Linked DNA regions of Homo sapiens: region 1 is linked to region 2. Evidence: promoter capture Hi-C in 16 types of primary human blood cells and fetal thymus (Javierre and others, 2016). All regions are on one chromosome and are shown on one strand. The core of a region is centred on a gene start or on the middle of the fragment in contact, and the rest is flanking DNA. Distances in the headings are between cores, read along the strand shown. Region 1 has its middle 49 kb from the start of CD28. Region 2 holds the start of RAPH1 (Ras association (RalGDS/AF-6) and pleckstrin homology domains 1).

Region 1 (7,337 bases), core at 4,377-6,876, 120 kb before region 2:
GGGAGAATCACAGGAAGACAGGAGTTCAAGACCAGCCTGAGCAACATAGCAAGACCCCATCTCTACAAAAAATTTAAAAATTAACTGGGCATAATGGCACGCACCTATAGTCCCAGTTACTCTGGAGGCTGAGGCAGGAGGATTGCTGGAGCCCAGGAGGTAAAGACTGTAGTGAGCCATGATTACACCACTGCACTCCAGCCTGGGTGACAGAGTGAAACCACCATCTAAAATAAAATAAAGGGCATATACAGGTTGTGCCTACATTGCACTGAAATTACTATTCATTTCCATTACCCTCAATGTTTGCAGACATTAAAAAACTGGTTGTTGATAGATAAGCAAGCATTCGATAAATATCATCTGCTTGATTTCCCACTCTTTAGAAAACCATGAACAAACATTTGATTTTTACCACTTGGCAGTTTAACATTTCTTGGTCATATAGACAAGTAGGTTATTGAAGAGACTAATATACTTGCATTTCCTCTTTTAAATATGACCTCTAAAATAGGCAGTTTGAAAATTATAATTGCCATACCATGTCAAGTGGCTGATCATCTAGTGTGATATTTTGTCTCTAAGTACAGCCCAAACATAGCCTGTGTGAAGCTATCGTTGTTCCCCATAATGGCAAAAAATAAATATCCCTCCTCTATTTCCCATCTCAGAAAAAAGAAGTGCAGTTCCCCCTACTAAAGGCAAACCCCTCCTTATATGCTCTCAACGCTACCTTCTCCCGTCTCCTCTGAGAGCTTTTGAGTCTTCCCTTATCTCAACCCCATTCCCACCCCACCCCCACCCATTTATGTACACAAATCCCAAATCATATAAATGTCTTATCTCAACTCTCGGCTACTATTTCATCTCTCTTCTCTTTATGAAATCCGTTGGACTCTACACTCTCTGCCTCTACTTCTTCTTTATCCCAGCTCAATCCTTGAAAGTTGGCTTCAAAACCCATAACTATAGACCAAAACATTCTTTTCTCAATGGCCTCTCAATGATCAAATCCACTGGCCCCTCCCCCACTCCTCATTCTCATCAGCTTCTCTTCCTGTCTGAAACTGATTCCTCATCCCATTCTTAGGACCTTCTTTGCACTGTCTGTCACTTCCCCTTTTCTAACTCTCGTTTCTTCATCTATCTCTGTCTCCCTTGCAGACCCTACTTTCTCTTCTTGTCCTGGGTATAAAGCATAATATATGGATCTACTCTCAGGCTTCTTATCTCTCTGGGCCTCATTTTTGAAGATCCTTTATAGGTAAAAGATCCCCAAGTGTGCCAGTTCTGATTTGAACTCCAGGTTCATATTGTTCACTGCCTGCTAGAGATCTCCGCTGACATACATCTCAAACTCAGTATGTCCAAACTCCACTTAACCTTCCTTTCAAGCCTGTTCCTCTTTTCCAGACACTAGGAAAAAAAATCTAGGAGTCATCTTCAATTATCTTCTCTTTCTCATTTCCCACATTTAGTTACAATGTCCTATATGTTCTTTTTTTTTTTTTTTTTTTTAGACAGAGTTTCGTCCATCACCCAGGCTGGAGTGCAATGGTGCAATATTGGCTCACTGCAACCTCCACCTTCTGGGTTCAGGTGATTCTCCTGCATCAGCCTCCCAAGTAGTTGGGATTACAGGCACTCACCACCACACCTGGCTAATTTTGTATTTTTTTTTAGTAGAGATGGTGTTTCACCATGTTGGCCAGACTGGTCTCAAACTCCTGACCTCAGGTAATCTGCCCGCTTCAGCCTCCCAAAGTTTTTTTTTTTTTTTTTTTTTTTTTTTATGAAGTCTCACTCTGTCGCCCAGGCTGGAGTCAATGGTGCGATCTCAGCTCACTGCAACCTCCGCCTCCTGGGTTCAAGCAATTCTCCTGCCTCAGCCTCCCCAGTAGCTGGGACTCCAGGCGTGAGCCACCATTCCCGGCTAATTTTTATATTTTTAGTAGAGACAGGGTTTCACCACAGTGGCCAGGCTGGTCTTGAACTCCTGACCTCATGATCCGCCCACCTCAGCCTCCCAAAGTGCTGGGATTACAGGCGTGAGCCACCACGCCCAGCTTCTATATGTTCTTTTTACACGTTCTCACTTTCACTATTGCCTTCTGTCTGGATTGTTCCAAAAGTCAAGAGATGGTTCTACATATCCAGTCTCCTTCTTTCCTGACCCCCAATATACCCTATACACTGCTTCCAAAGTAACCCTTGAAAATATGGTTCTTTATGGTGTCACTGCCCTGCAAAATGAAGACCCAATACCTTAAGATGCTATTCAAGCCCCTACAAAATGGCCTGCCTCTGACTGCACCTGCTCATGAATTCTTCACTGCAATAATACTGGATGCTTCAACTACCAGAGTACCACATTGCCACTGTCTATGGGTGTTACTTCTACCCAAAATGTTCTTCTCCAACTCTGGAACCCTCTCCACCCATTAAAACTAAGGAACATTTCAAATTCTGCCTCTTCTGTGAAAACTTCCCTGTTCTCTTAGAAATCTCTCCTTTCTCTATGAGACTTAGAACTCAGTGACATTAAGGTAAAGAAATGTCTTTGCAAACTTGCAAATGTGTGTGGAGAGTCTATGTTGCGTCAAACCTTGTATTCAGGATGTAGAGAATACACAGTCCCTGTTTTTCGGGAACTTCTGCTTCTTGGGGATAGAGAATGCTTAGCATACTAAATTATAACCGTGGCCAGGTGCGGTGGCTCATGCCTATAATCCCAGCACTTTGGGAGGCCGAGGCAGGCGGATCACCTGAGGTCAGGAGTTCGAGACCAGCCTGGGCAACATGGCAAAACCCTGTCTCTACTAAAAATACAAAAATTAGCTGTGCATGGTGGCAGGCACCTGCAATCCCAGCTACTTGGGAGGCTGCGGCAGGAGAATCGCTTGAACCCGGGAGGCGGAGGTTACAGTAAGCCAAGACATGCCATTGCACTCCAGCCTGGGTGACAGAGCAAGACTCTGTCTCAAAAAAAAAAAAAAAAAATTGTAACCATGTGTGCATTCTGTGCTACAGATACAGGGAAGGGGCACTGAACCCAGCCTGGGGTGTCAGGATGACTTTCCAGAGGAGCAACACTGGAATTGAAGAAAGAACAGTTGTCCAGACAGAGATAGGCGTGAAGAACATTTCAGAAGTAAAACATCACATATGGAAAGGCATGAGAAACCATGTTCCATTTCAGGAATTCAGGTAACTCAGTTGCCTGAAGTATAAAGTACATAGGGGGCCAGGCACTGTGGCTCAAGCCTATAATCCCAACACTTTGGGAGGCCGAGACGGGTGCATCACCTGAGGTCTGGAGTTCGAGACCAGCCTGGACAACATGGTGAAACCCCATCTCTACTAAAAATACAAAAAAATTAGCCAGCCATAGTGGCAGGTGCCTGTAATGCCAGCTACTCAGGAGGCTGAGGCAGGAGAATCGCTTGAACCCGGGAGGCAGAGGTTACAGTGAGCCAAGATCGTGCCACTGCACTCCAGCCTGGACAACAGAGGAGAACCCTGTCTCAGTAAAATAAAATAAAAGGCATGGGGGAGGCGGGACAAGAAGCTAGAAAGGCAGGGACGAGTTGCAAAGAGTCTTGAGTGCCTGTATCAGTTATCTGCTGCAGTGGTGCTGCATAAAAATCATCCCAAAACTGCGGCTTCAAATAATAGCCATGCCTGGTGTGGTGGCACCCACCTATAATCCCCGCTACTCCGGAGGCTGAGGCGGGAGGATCACTTGAGACCAGGAGGTCAAGGCTACGGTGAGCCATGATTGCACCACTGCACTCCAGCATGGGTGACAGAGCAAGACCCTATCTCAAAAGGCCATTTATTCTTGCTTATAAATCTGTGGGTCAGCAGAATGGTTCCTCTGGCTTGAACTGGGGTCATGTAGGCATATGCAGTCAGAGTGTGCATTGAGAAACACTCCTGCTGATCTTGGCAGAGCTGTCTCATGTGTTTGGGAGTCAGGGGCTATGAGGGGTTTAGGATGGCCTTGAATCTTCTCCACATGTGCCTCACATTGGCAGTACGTTAGCCCAGGCATGTCATGTCCTCATGACAAGGAAGAAGTGAAAAAGAGAACACACCCAATCATGCAAGAGGGCAAGAGGAAACGCCTGCGCTTTTCAAGCCTCTGCTTGCATCATGTTTGCTAACATTCCAGCGCCAAAGCAAGTCACATCAATGAGCCCAGAGTCAGAATGGGAGGGAACACAAAGGTTCAGGGCAAAGGCTGTGAAAACTGGGAGGGGCCGTTAATGCAATCAATCTACCATAGTGTAGAGGAGTCTGAATTTTTATACTTAGAGGCATGTTGTCATTCCTATTGATTAGAAACTCTTGAGCAACAGGACTGTATTTTATTCATTACTATATCTGCCATAGCAGTTAGCATAATAATATACCCAAAGTACACATTCAATAAATTTTGGTAGAGTATAACTGAATCCCTAGTTTATACAATAATTTATTATATATACTAGCTGCAAGTTTTCTAAACACTTATCAAGTACATTTATATTTTCAATCTATATCATCCTTGGAGTACAGAGTTCTATCTATTTATTACCTGCTGTGTAAAACAGTAATGCCTGTTCACTGCCTAAACACCACCTCCTTTAAGCTTAGCTGGGCTAATTCTAATGTTGAAAGGGAAGGTGAACAAATATGTGGGTTTTTTCCCCAGTCTTTCCGAATTTTGCAAATTTCAAACTGGCCCTCCCTCTTCCATAAAAAAGACTTCAAGCTTCTTGGCCTGTCTTCCAATTGTTTAAACAAAGATTTTTCTCTCTACTGGAGCAATTAAAACGGCCCCCATGATGGCAGAGGAAATGCTTTGGTTTGGTTTGAGGCTTCCCAAACATCATTACAGACTAAGGACACCAAATATGTAGCTGACAGCAAAACAGTTTATAATTATGCACCAAGAAACAACCCACCGAAATCCCCATTCTATGCATAGCCTGTCTCCCTGTGCCCTCATTCCTATCTCCACAATCCCACCCACAGTTCTCATCTAGAAAGGCCCAGGGAAATAGCCTTTCTCTGGTCACTAAGTGGTAAATACATTGGAGTCATCTTTGACTCCTCTTTTTTTTTTTTTTTTTTGAGACAGAGTCTCGCTCTGTCACCCAGGCTGGAATGCAGTGGTGCGATCTTGGCTCACTACAACCTCCACCTCCCAGGTTCAAGCAATTCTCATGCCTCAGCCTCCAGAGAAGCTGGGACTACAGGCACGCACCACCACACCTGGCTAATTTTTGTATTTTTAGTAGAGACGGGGTTTCACCATGTTACCCAGGCTGATCTCAAGCTCCTGACCTCAAGTGATCCACCTGCCTTCGTCTCCCAAAGTGCTGGGATTACAGGCATGAGCCACTGCCTCGGCCTGACTCCTCTCTTTCTTTCGCACTCCACGTTCAGTCCAGCAGCAAAGCATGTCAACTCTGTCTTCAAAATACATCCAGAGTCTGACCACCTCTCATCACTGTCACTGCTATTATCCTGGTGCAGACCACCATGAGCTCTCATTTCAATGATCAAAATAGCCTCCTACCCACTTTCCCACCCACCATGTCTTCCACACGATAGCCAAAAACGTACGCCTGATCATGTCATTCCTCTGCTCAAAATCCTCCAGTAGATTCCTCTTACTCAGAATAAGAGCCAAATTCTCACCTCAGTCTGTAAGGACCCACATGATTTCCCTGCACCCTCATCTTATCACCTTCCAGTGCTTTCTTGGCTCACTTTGATCCAGCCAGGAAGATAATGGTCTTCCTGCTGCTCTTGAATGTGCCCACTGTGCTGCCTCCTCAGGGTCTTTGCCTGTGATGTTCTTCAGCCTGGAGTACAGTTGCCACAGACACCCACATGGCTCACCAGTTCCCTGTTCAAATGTCGCCTTATCAGAAATTTTTCCCCACCTACCAGTTATGAATTAGCACTTGTGGCTCCCTCCCCACTTCATTACTCTCGATTCCCTCCTTATTTGGCATGTTATATATTCATTTGTATATTGTTTGTCATTTGCCCTTCCCACTAAAATTTAAGATCAGCGACAGCAGAAACTGATCTGTCTTGTTCACTGTTTTATCCTCAGAAACTAGAATATAGATTAGGTAGATGGTAGACCTTCAACAAATAATTTGAATAAAGTAGCTATGCCCTACCCACACTGCACGTAAGCATTAGGCACAGGCTTATTCTGAATGAAATTTGTTGTGTTTTATTCATTCCTTCTTTTTGATTCATTTCTCCAAACTACCCAGGATTTACATTTGCCTATGATACTAAGAAACTTGAGGAAAATGAATGCTGTAGTATTTAAAAAGGATCAACTTTAGATATTTGCTTTAAGAAAAAGGGAAATAAAGTTTCCAGCCAAATTCCTAAATTAATGTGCATGATAATAAAATAAACTTGCCTAATCTTCCTGGAATCACTTGGGTAATTCCGAACACGGAGCGATAATACCACAAGCTTCTCTAAATGCAAGGCAGACACTTGCAAACCTGAGCTTTTAATACCAAACAAGTGCCAACTTTTTTTTTTTTTTTTTTTTTTGATATGGAGTCTCATTCTGTCGCCCAGGCTGGAGTGTAGTGGCGCGATCTCAGCTCACTGCGTGCTCCGCCTCCCGGGTTCACGCCATTCTCCTGCCTCAGCCTCCTGAGCAGCTGGGACCACAGGCACCTGCCACCACGCCCGGCTAATTTTTTGCATTTTTAGTAGAGATGGGATTTCACCGCGCTAGCAAGGATGGTCTTGATCTCCTGACCTCGTGATCTACCTGCCTTGGCCTCCCAAATTGCTGGGATTACAGGCCTGAGCCACTGTGCCCAGCCCTACAAGTGCTAACTTTTAAGTATATATATAATGTTATTCTCCGCATATCCACACCTCTACATCATCAAACTATAAGAACCCACTGACATTCTGGCACATTATCCAGGCTTCACCAAGCAACCTCATGTCCATACGTCTCCCAGAGCAGCCAACTCTAAGTGGCACTAACTGGAAAAGCAGCCTCGCATTGTCATCCCACAAGGAGAAGGGCAAAGCTCTGCTTTCAGATGCCAGTGTAGGGCCACTGGGCAAGGACCCTCCGATGCTGTTCCAATTTTTTCATTCTGTTCTTCCTTTTTTTTTTTAGACAGCGTCTCACTCTGTTGCTCAGGCTGGAATGCAGTGGTGTGATCTCAGCTAGCTGCAACCTCTGCCTCCCCAGTTCAAGAGATTCTCCTGCCTCAGCCTCCTGAGTAGCTGGGACTACAGGCCTATGCCCCGCTAATTTTTGTAATTTTAGTAGAGACGGGGTTTCACCG
Region 2 (7,371 bases), core at 2,294-4,793:
GTCTGGTCTTCTTGGTCTCCAAAACACAAACTCAGTTGTTCTGGAGCTAAAATACTTCAAATATTTTATTATTTACTACATTTCCCAGAGTATCAAATTCAAATTCCTTAGTTTAACAAGAGCCCCTTCATGAATGAAGCCCTTCCTACCCTTTCCTCCAACCTCTTTGACTCTTCTCTATGCCTGTTCTGACAAAATGGAATTACTTACTAATACGGTTTGTCTCTGTGTCCCCACCCAAATCTCATCTTATAGCTCCCATAATTTCCACCTGCTGTAGGAGGGACCCAGTGGGAGATAGTTGAATCATGGGGGTGGGTCTTTCCCGTGCTGTTCTCATAATAGTGAATAAGTCTCATGAGATCTGATGGTTTTAAAAATGGGAGTTTCCCTGCACAAGCTCTCTTTTTGCCTGCTGCCATCCATGTAAGATGTGACTTGCTCCTCATCACCTTCTGCCATGATTGTGAGTCCTCCCCAGCCATGTGGAACTGTAAGTCCATTAAACCTCTTTTTCTTCCCAGTCTCAGGTATGTGTTTATCAGCAGCATGAAAACGGACTAATACACTTACGGTGCCTCTAAAGCATGGTGATGCTTGGTGCTTCCACACACCTGCAGAGATATTGTTTTCTTCGTTTGGAATGCTTGTTCCCTCCTTCTTCTGGTTAGCTCCTCCCTATCATTTAACATTCAGTTCAAGAATCTCCCCATCAGGAAGGCTTTCCTGATCTGGTAATGGACTTCCAGTCTAACAATGACTTCCTTACCTGCTTTACCCACTAGACTGTATGCTTTTTGTAGGCAGGAAGCATCATGCCACGTCTTTCTTGTCTTTGTATTCCTGGGCCTTAATTGTAGCTTAATAAACTCTGATTGAATGAACGAATGATTTAATGGTTTAAAGAAACTGATGAGAACACTCTTTTCTCAATGACTGAAAGTGACCTTTTTTCTCTTTTAATTAACCTTGATCTTAGGCTAAGCACTTGGAGAAGAGTTGGCTAAGACCTATGTAAAAGGCACTCAATGGTCTATTTTTTTTTTTTTTCTGAGATGGAGTCTCACTCTTGTCACCCAGGTTGGAGTGCAATGGCAGGATCTTGGCTCACTGCAAGCTCCACTCCCAAGTTCAAGTGATTCTCCTGCCTCAGCCTCCTGAGTAGCTGGGATTACAGGCACCCGCCACCATGCTCAGCTCATTTTTGTATTTTTAGTAGAGATGGGATTTCACCATGTTGGCCAGGCTAGTCTCCAACTCCTGACCTCAGGTGATCCGCCCACCTCAGCCTCCCAAAGTGCTGGGATTACAGGTGCGAGCCACCACTCCTGGCTTCAATCGTCTATTTTTTTAAGGAGGTTTAAATGAATCATCTTCCTTGTAAGGTATCACACAGCCTAGTACATTTAATGACAATAGGATTCATTAAGTTTGGCACCCAGGTGTGTCTAATGTCAACAAACTTGGTCACAAGGGAAATGAGGTGAAAGACTAGATACATTTGTATAAAATTATCACTTATGAAAAATTTTAAAGCATTTATTAATTTATAAATACTTATTGTGCAAGATACTATGCTAGATATTGTGGGAGATACAAGGATGAATAAAGTGTTGTATTATATTCACTTTTGGAGGATAACTTCTTGAAATAATTAGGTGGCAAATGATGATTCCCACAAGAAAGGAAGAGAAGTCTAAAAGAAGTTGGTCAGCAGGATCATCTTCATTTATAAGAGATAGTATTATTCTTTTATTATTTTTATTTTTTATTATACTTTAAGTTCTAGGGTACATGTGCACAACGTGCAGCTTTGTTACATATGTATACATGTGCCATGTTGGTGTGCTGCACCCATTAACTCATCATTTACATTAGGTATATCTCCTAATGCTATCCCTCCCCCCTCTCCATCCCCCCAACAGGCCCCTGTGTGATATATTCCCTGCTTTGTGTCCAAGTGTTCTCATTGTTCAAGTCCCACCTATGAGTGAGATCATGTGGTGTTTGGTTTTCTGTCCTTGCGATAGTTTGCTGAGAATGATGGTTTCCAGCTTCATCCATGTCCCTACAAAGGACATTAACTCAACCTTTTTTATGGCTGCATAGTATTCCGTGGTGTATATGTGCCACATTTTCTTAATCCAGTCAAGAGATAGTATTATTCTATACAAGAATATTGACATACCTACTGAACTTAAAATACAAAAGGGCAGTTATGTTTCAAAAGTACAGATATCTCAAGTGTGAAAGGCAGCCAGTATCTGTATTGTATGGTTCTAAATACCAATTTGAAACAGATTGTGTACCAGTTTGGAACAGATTGTACAAAAAAGACTGAAACCACTTGAAAGTCCTCAAGAATATCAGGAAGTAAGAATGTAATTAACCAAACCAGGATTTGGCCCCAGGACAGAGAAATGAACACTCTCATTCTTAGAGAGGGAGCTAGGATTTCAGGAATGTACAGTCAATGCTTTGTGAAAATTTAAATAAATTCTTAGCAAGCAGATGGGAAGACATGAAAAAGCAATGTTCATTGCAACCAATTTCAGGTCACACTCCCAATTTCTCAATTGTTTTAATGCTGTCAACAAACTTGCTTTGCATGTAGCCAAGCAAACATAACTTAGTTCCATTTGTTCCTTTCTTTGATCAACTTTAGGTGAAGGTCAAAATAAGGACATACTTAAAATCTAAAAGTCTGCCGAAGTCAAGCCTGCATCTAAAGAGGCAGCAGCTGAGCTTAGCGATAAGGAAAAATGCCGACACCTTACTACTACACAATTCCGATGGGGTGGGGGGACAGAAATTAAGGAGGCAGGATTAACAGATTTCGAAGTTTAAAAAGTAAAGGTCATCGAAATGTCCCGTTCCTAAGTTTCCCAATACATTCCATGAAACTGCAGAGACTTTTTGGCCAAAATGGGATTTCCTAAAGAAGGGCCTCACAGATCTCAACGACAATGGTCCTGTAAGTGACCGAGCCAACCCCGGATGCGTTTCTGGAGTCTCTGAATACACGGACAGCGTATAAAGGTGGATGCGTACAGCTCCCTGACAGAACTGCTGGAGGCTGCTGTGCCTCCCAGGGCGCTAGGACAGAGGCTGCTGGGCCGGCTTCCTATGAAAGGCGAGCAGGGGGTGGGGCAGCACTGGGATTTTCCTCCCCACTCATTCATTCTCTGATTCACTCGTTCCTGTAGGCGGCTCACAGGGACTTGCGGAGGAAAGGCGAGGCACGAGCGGAGCCGCGGTTGAGTGCGGCCGGGCGCGGCCGGGCGCCTGAAGGGAGGGCGGAGGGCCGGCGCGGGGCGCGGGCTAGGGAAGGGCGGCGGGCGCGGCGGCCTGCGCCGGAAGTGAGTGGTTGGCGGCGGGCGGGGGCGGCGCGCGGTCCCGCGCGAGTCGGCCCTACAGTCGGCAGTCCGGCCCTCAACCCCGCCTTCTGCGTCTCGGCTGGACGCGAGCACACTCGGCTCCGCCGCCGCCGCCGCCGCCGCGGGGCGCTGCGGCCGCCCCGCCCCCGCTCCCGCCGCCGCCCGCCAGTCAGTCAGTCAGTCAGTCAGTCAGTCAGTCAGTCAGTCACTGAGCGCGCGGCGCGGGAGCTGCTGGCAGTCGCTGCGTCTCTGGCGAGGGAGCGCCGCGCCTGGGGAGGAGGCGGAGGCAGCGGCTGGAGGAGCGCGAGCGGCGGTTTCCTTGCCCGGGGCCGCGGGAAGGCCGACCGACTGCCGCGGTGAGTGGTTAGCCTCGCCCTCGGGGCCAGGGGGTAGGGAGCCGGCTGGGCGCGGGGCCGTGAGGCGCTCCTGCCGCTCCCGCCTCCATTTTCCCGGCGCCCGGCCCCGCCATCCGGGTGCGGTACGGTCGGCGGCAGCCTGGGGCGGGGTCGTTGCCAGGTTGGGGATCGGGCCGGGGCTGGCTGGACCGCTCCCGGCTGGTGGATGGAGGTCGGTGGGGCCTGGACTGCACCCTGCGCCCCTGGGGACCGCGACGGAGGGAGACAATGAGATAAGGGGCCGCCTGGGAGGGTGCGGTTAGGCTTCTCCGACCCAGCACCGGGGGCTGGTGGCCCGGGACCGCAGGGAGGAAAGGACTTTCCCCCGCCCAGCTGCAGAAACCAGCTACTGGATGTCGGGTTGCTTGGGTTTCGATGCCCCCATCTTTCATAGATGAGTTCAGTGCAGAGATTTTGAAAGGCGGGGCTCCTTCTGTGTCTTCTTTCTAATTAAACAGGATAAGTAATTGCTTCATTGCTTTTTAACCGCGTCTCCTCTTGCGGTCTGTATTATACATTCCCGCCGGAAATCCAAACTGCAATTCATGGGGGGGGGGGGGGGGTGGACGGAGGGAGGGGGCAGTGTGATAGTATTAGGATGCCTTCGTGTTAAGACAGGTTGAAAGATGTGGTTTTCTTAAGGCAGTGACTTAGGGTGTCCCCACTGTGTGAGCTGGAAACCGCATAAACCTTATTGCTTACAAGCTCGAAGACATGGTTTAATATGAAATAAGAGCCTTGAGGGAGGGTGTAAGTGTTACATGTGTCTTGCGTGTGTGCATTTCTTAAATTCTTTGGGAAGATCCGTTGGGGAAATCCGGGAGAATGGAAAAGTTCTTCACTCAATCTTCCAATAAGGGTTGATGTTGTCTGCAGCATTTCTCAGGGAAATGTGGAGAGCTGCTTATGTAGGTAAAGTCCACCGTTAAGGAACAGTAAAGGTAACGGGTTAGGGATGAGGCGTGATCGGATTATTAAAGAGTCAGTCCATGGGGATATTAAATTCAGCAAACATTTATGGAATACCTACTCTGTCAGTTAGGCTGGGTGACACCAGGTGAACAAGCATGGGGTGGTGGAAAGAGCTCTTCGGAGTGGGGGAAACCGTACGCCCTGGAATTGGCTTGCAATGTGAGTTGGATAAGCTATTGAACTCTGCAGTACGTTCCCTATCAGTAAAATGGGAATAACACCACCTGTTTACCTCCCCAGATGTTTTTCATGTAGATTAAATGAGATAATGTATGCAAAATGCGTAGCACCTTGCCTGGCATAGAGGTGTTTAACAGCACCTTAAATTCCTTTCCTCCTCGGGGTGGTTTTTTTGGGGGTGCGGTGCGGGGGGTTAGTGAATGTAGGTAAGTGTAATACAGTGAACTATATAGTAAAATGTTGAGGTATAGAATAGGAGAGCGAAGAAGAGAGATTAATTCTAAATTGAGGGAGGAATGCATGGAAGCCTCGGCATTTAAGTGAAACCTTTAAGGATGAGTAGGATTTCAGCAGATTCAGATGGGGAGGAGGACATTTCACATGGTGGTGCTATCCTTTGAGAGCCGAATTGAGGGGGAGGACCTTTGGGGGAGGGGCAAAATAGAGACGCTCAATAGCTTTTAACTCTTGTTGAGTCTGACCTTCAAAGATTGTCTCCGTTATTTTGCTTTTTGTGTGGTGAATTTCCCAGAAACCAGATGCAGCCCTACTCAAGTAAGTACAAAAAGCTTAATTCATGATTTTTTGGGTTAGACATTTTGTATAATTTAGATTGCTGTCTCCTGTTTGAATGTAATAAAGAATTATTTGTAGATGTTGCCTTATGATAAACGTTAGCTTTATTTGGTAGAAGCAGCAGCTTATTTTTCAGACTCAGAGGTCTCACTAAGATTATAGAGTATGTGACTGGGTGAAAGGAGTGGAGTAGTGGGCACTATTGGGTGTGTTTTCACAAATATTTAACTCTTTATTTTCCAAAGAGGTGTTTTTAACCATTGTCTTTGAGGATGATTATGTCTTTTGGTTTTGCTGCCCTTTGGTGCTCACCCCATAAATACTTACTAGATTGGCATCGTGGATAACTGTCACACTATTCACAGATTCTTGGTTACACATTGTAGAATCTCATGGCTTTGGTTGCCTTGGTTTGGAAGTAATTGAATGTCAACATTAGTATTGTTAATCCCAAACACTTAATTTTAGGAAAATTAATATTAGTGAAGCAAGATGTGACCTCAGGCAGATAACTTATCTTGGACTCTTAATTCCTTTACCTATAAAATGAGAAGTTTGGATTAGATCACTGCTTCTTAAACTGTTTCACTGAACTTGAGAATTTCAGAGATTCTGCAGATGTTTGACTTTAATCTCAATAAAAATGTATTTTAAACTTATAATAATAAAAAGTGGCCACTGTATGACGTACACTGTTTTAAACACTTTATATGTGATAATTTATTTAATTCTCGCCATAACCCTATGAAATAGAGTCTATTATTTGAGAAAATAGGCACAGACAATAAGTTGCCCAAAGACTGCAGAGCTATAGTGGCAGAGCTGGATTTGAAACCGGGCAGCCTAATTCTTAAGCTTGTATTCTTAACCATGTTTTTACACTGCCACTAAAGCAACACACACATATACTCTTTGAAAGAAATGTGGTAAAGTATGCATAACATACAAATTACCATTTTAACTATTTTTAAGTGTACAGTTCAGTGGCTTAAGTACATTATTGTGCCATCATCACCACCATCTCCAGAAATTTTTTATCATCCCAAACTGAAATTCTTCCCATTAAACAGTAATTCTACAAGCCACAGTGCGCTATGATCATGCACACTGGGTGACAGAGTGAGACCCTGTTCAAAAACAAAACAGTAACTATCCACTTCCCTCCCTCTACCCTACCCTCCTAGTAACAACTTTTCTACTTTTGACTCACACAATATTGATTCTTGTGTCTGGCTTATGTTACTTAACACACTGTCTTCAAGATCATCCATGTAGGATGTATCATAATTCCATTCCTTTTTCAGACTGATTAATATTCCGTTGTATGTATATACCACATTTATGGATATTTGGGTTGTTTCCACCTTTGGGGTACTGTGAATAATGCTGCCTTGAGTATTGGTATACAACTGTTTGAATCCCTCCTTTCGGTTCTTTTTTCAGTATTTCTATACACCCAGAAATGGGATTGCTAGATTGTATGCTAATTCTATATTTAATTTTTGAGGAACTGCCATATTGCATTCCACAGCAGCTGCACCATTTTACATTCCCACTAGCAATGCACAAAGGTTCCAGTTTCTCTGTATCTTGCCAACACTTCTTTTCTAGTGTTTTTTCTTTTTATGTTTTTGATAATAGCTATTCTAATGGGCGTGGTGTGGTATTTCATTGTGGTTTTGATTTGAATTTTCCTAATGATTAGGGATGTTGAGCATCTTTTCGTATGCTTATTGTCCATTTGTATATCTGAGGAGAAATGTCTATCCAAGTCCTTGACTCATTTTTAAAGTAGGTTGTTTTTTGGTGAGTTGTAGGAGTTCTTTGTACACTCTGGATATTAATCCCTTATCAAATATATGATTTGCAAA

Evidence for each region. Contacts are between HindIII fragments. The CHiCAGO score rates a contact against its expected background, and 5 or more counts as called.
Region 1: a contact is called between a fragment that was not itself captured here and the fragment with the promoter of RAPH1 in region 2, in 1 of 17 cell types (M0 macrophages). The highest score is 5.5, in M0 macrophages.

What each region holds. Positions count from the first base shown.
Region 1 is chr2:203,653,591-203,660,927 of GRCh38, reverse strand. No RefSeq gene overlaps it. Among named protein-coding and RNA genes, the nearest start is that of CD28, 49 kb to the left of the region's middle. The HindIII fragment of the contact is 1,736 bases long and covers 4,759-6,494 here.
Region 2 is chr2:203,531,473-203,538,843 of GRCh38, reverse strand. It overlaps RAPH1 (Ras association (RalGDS/AF-6) and pleckstrin homology domains 1), which reads left to right and starts at 3,543. Exons shown (of 14, transcript NM_213589.3): 1 at 3,543-3,733. RefSeq lists silencers at 3,395-3,464, 3,515-3,604, 3,675-3,774. The HindIII fragment of the contact is 18,695 bases long and covers 1-5,495 here.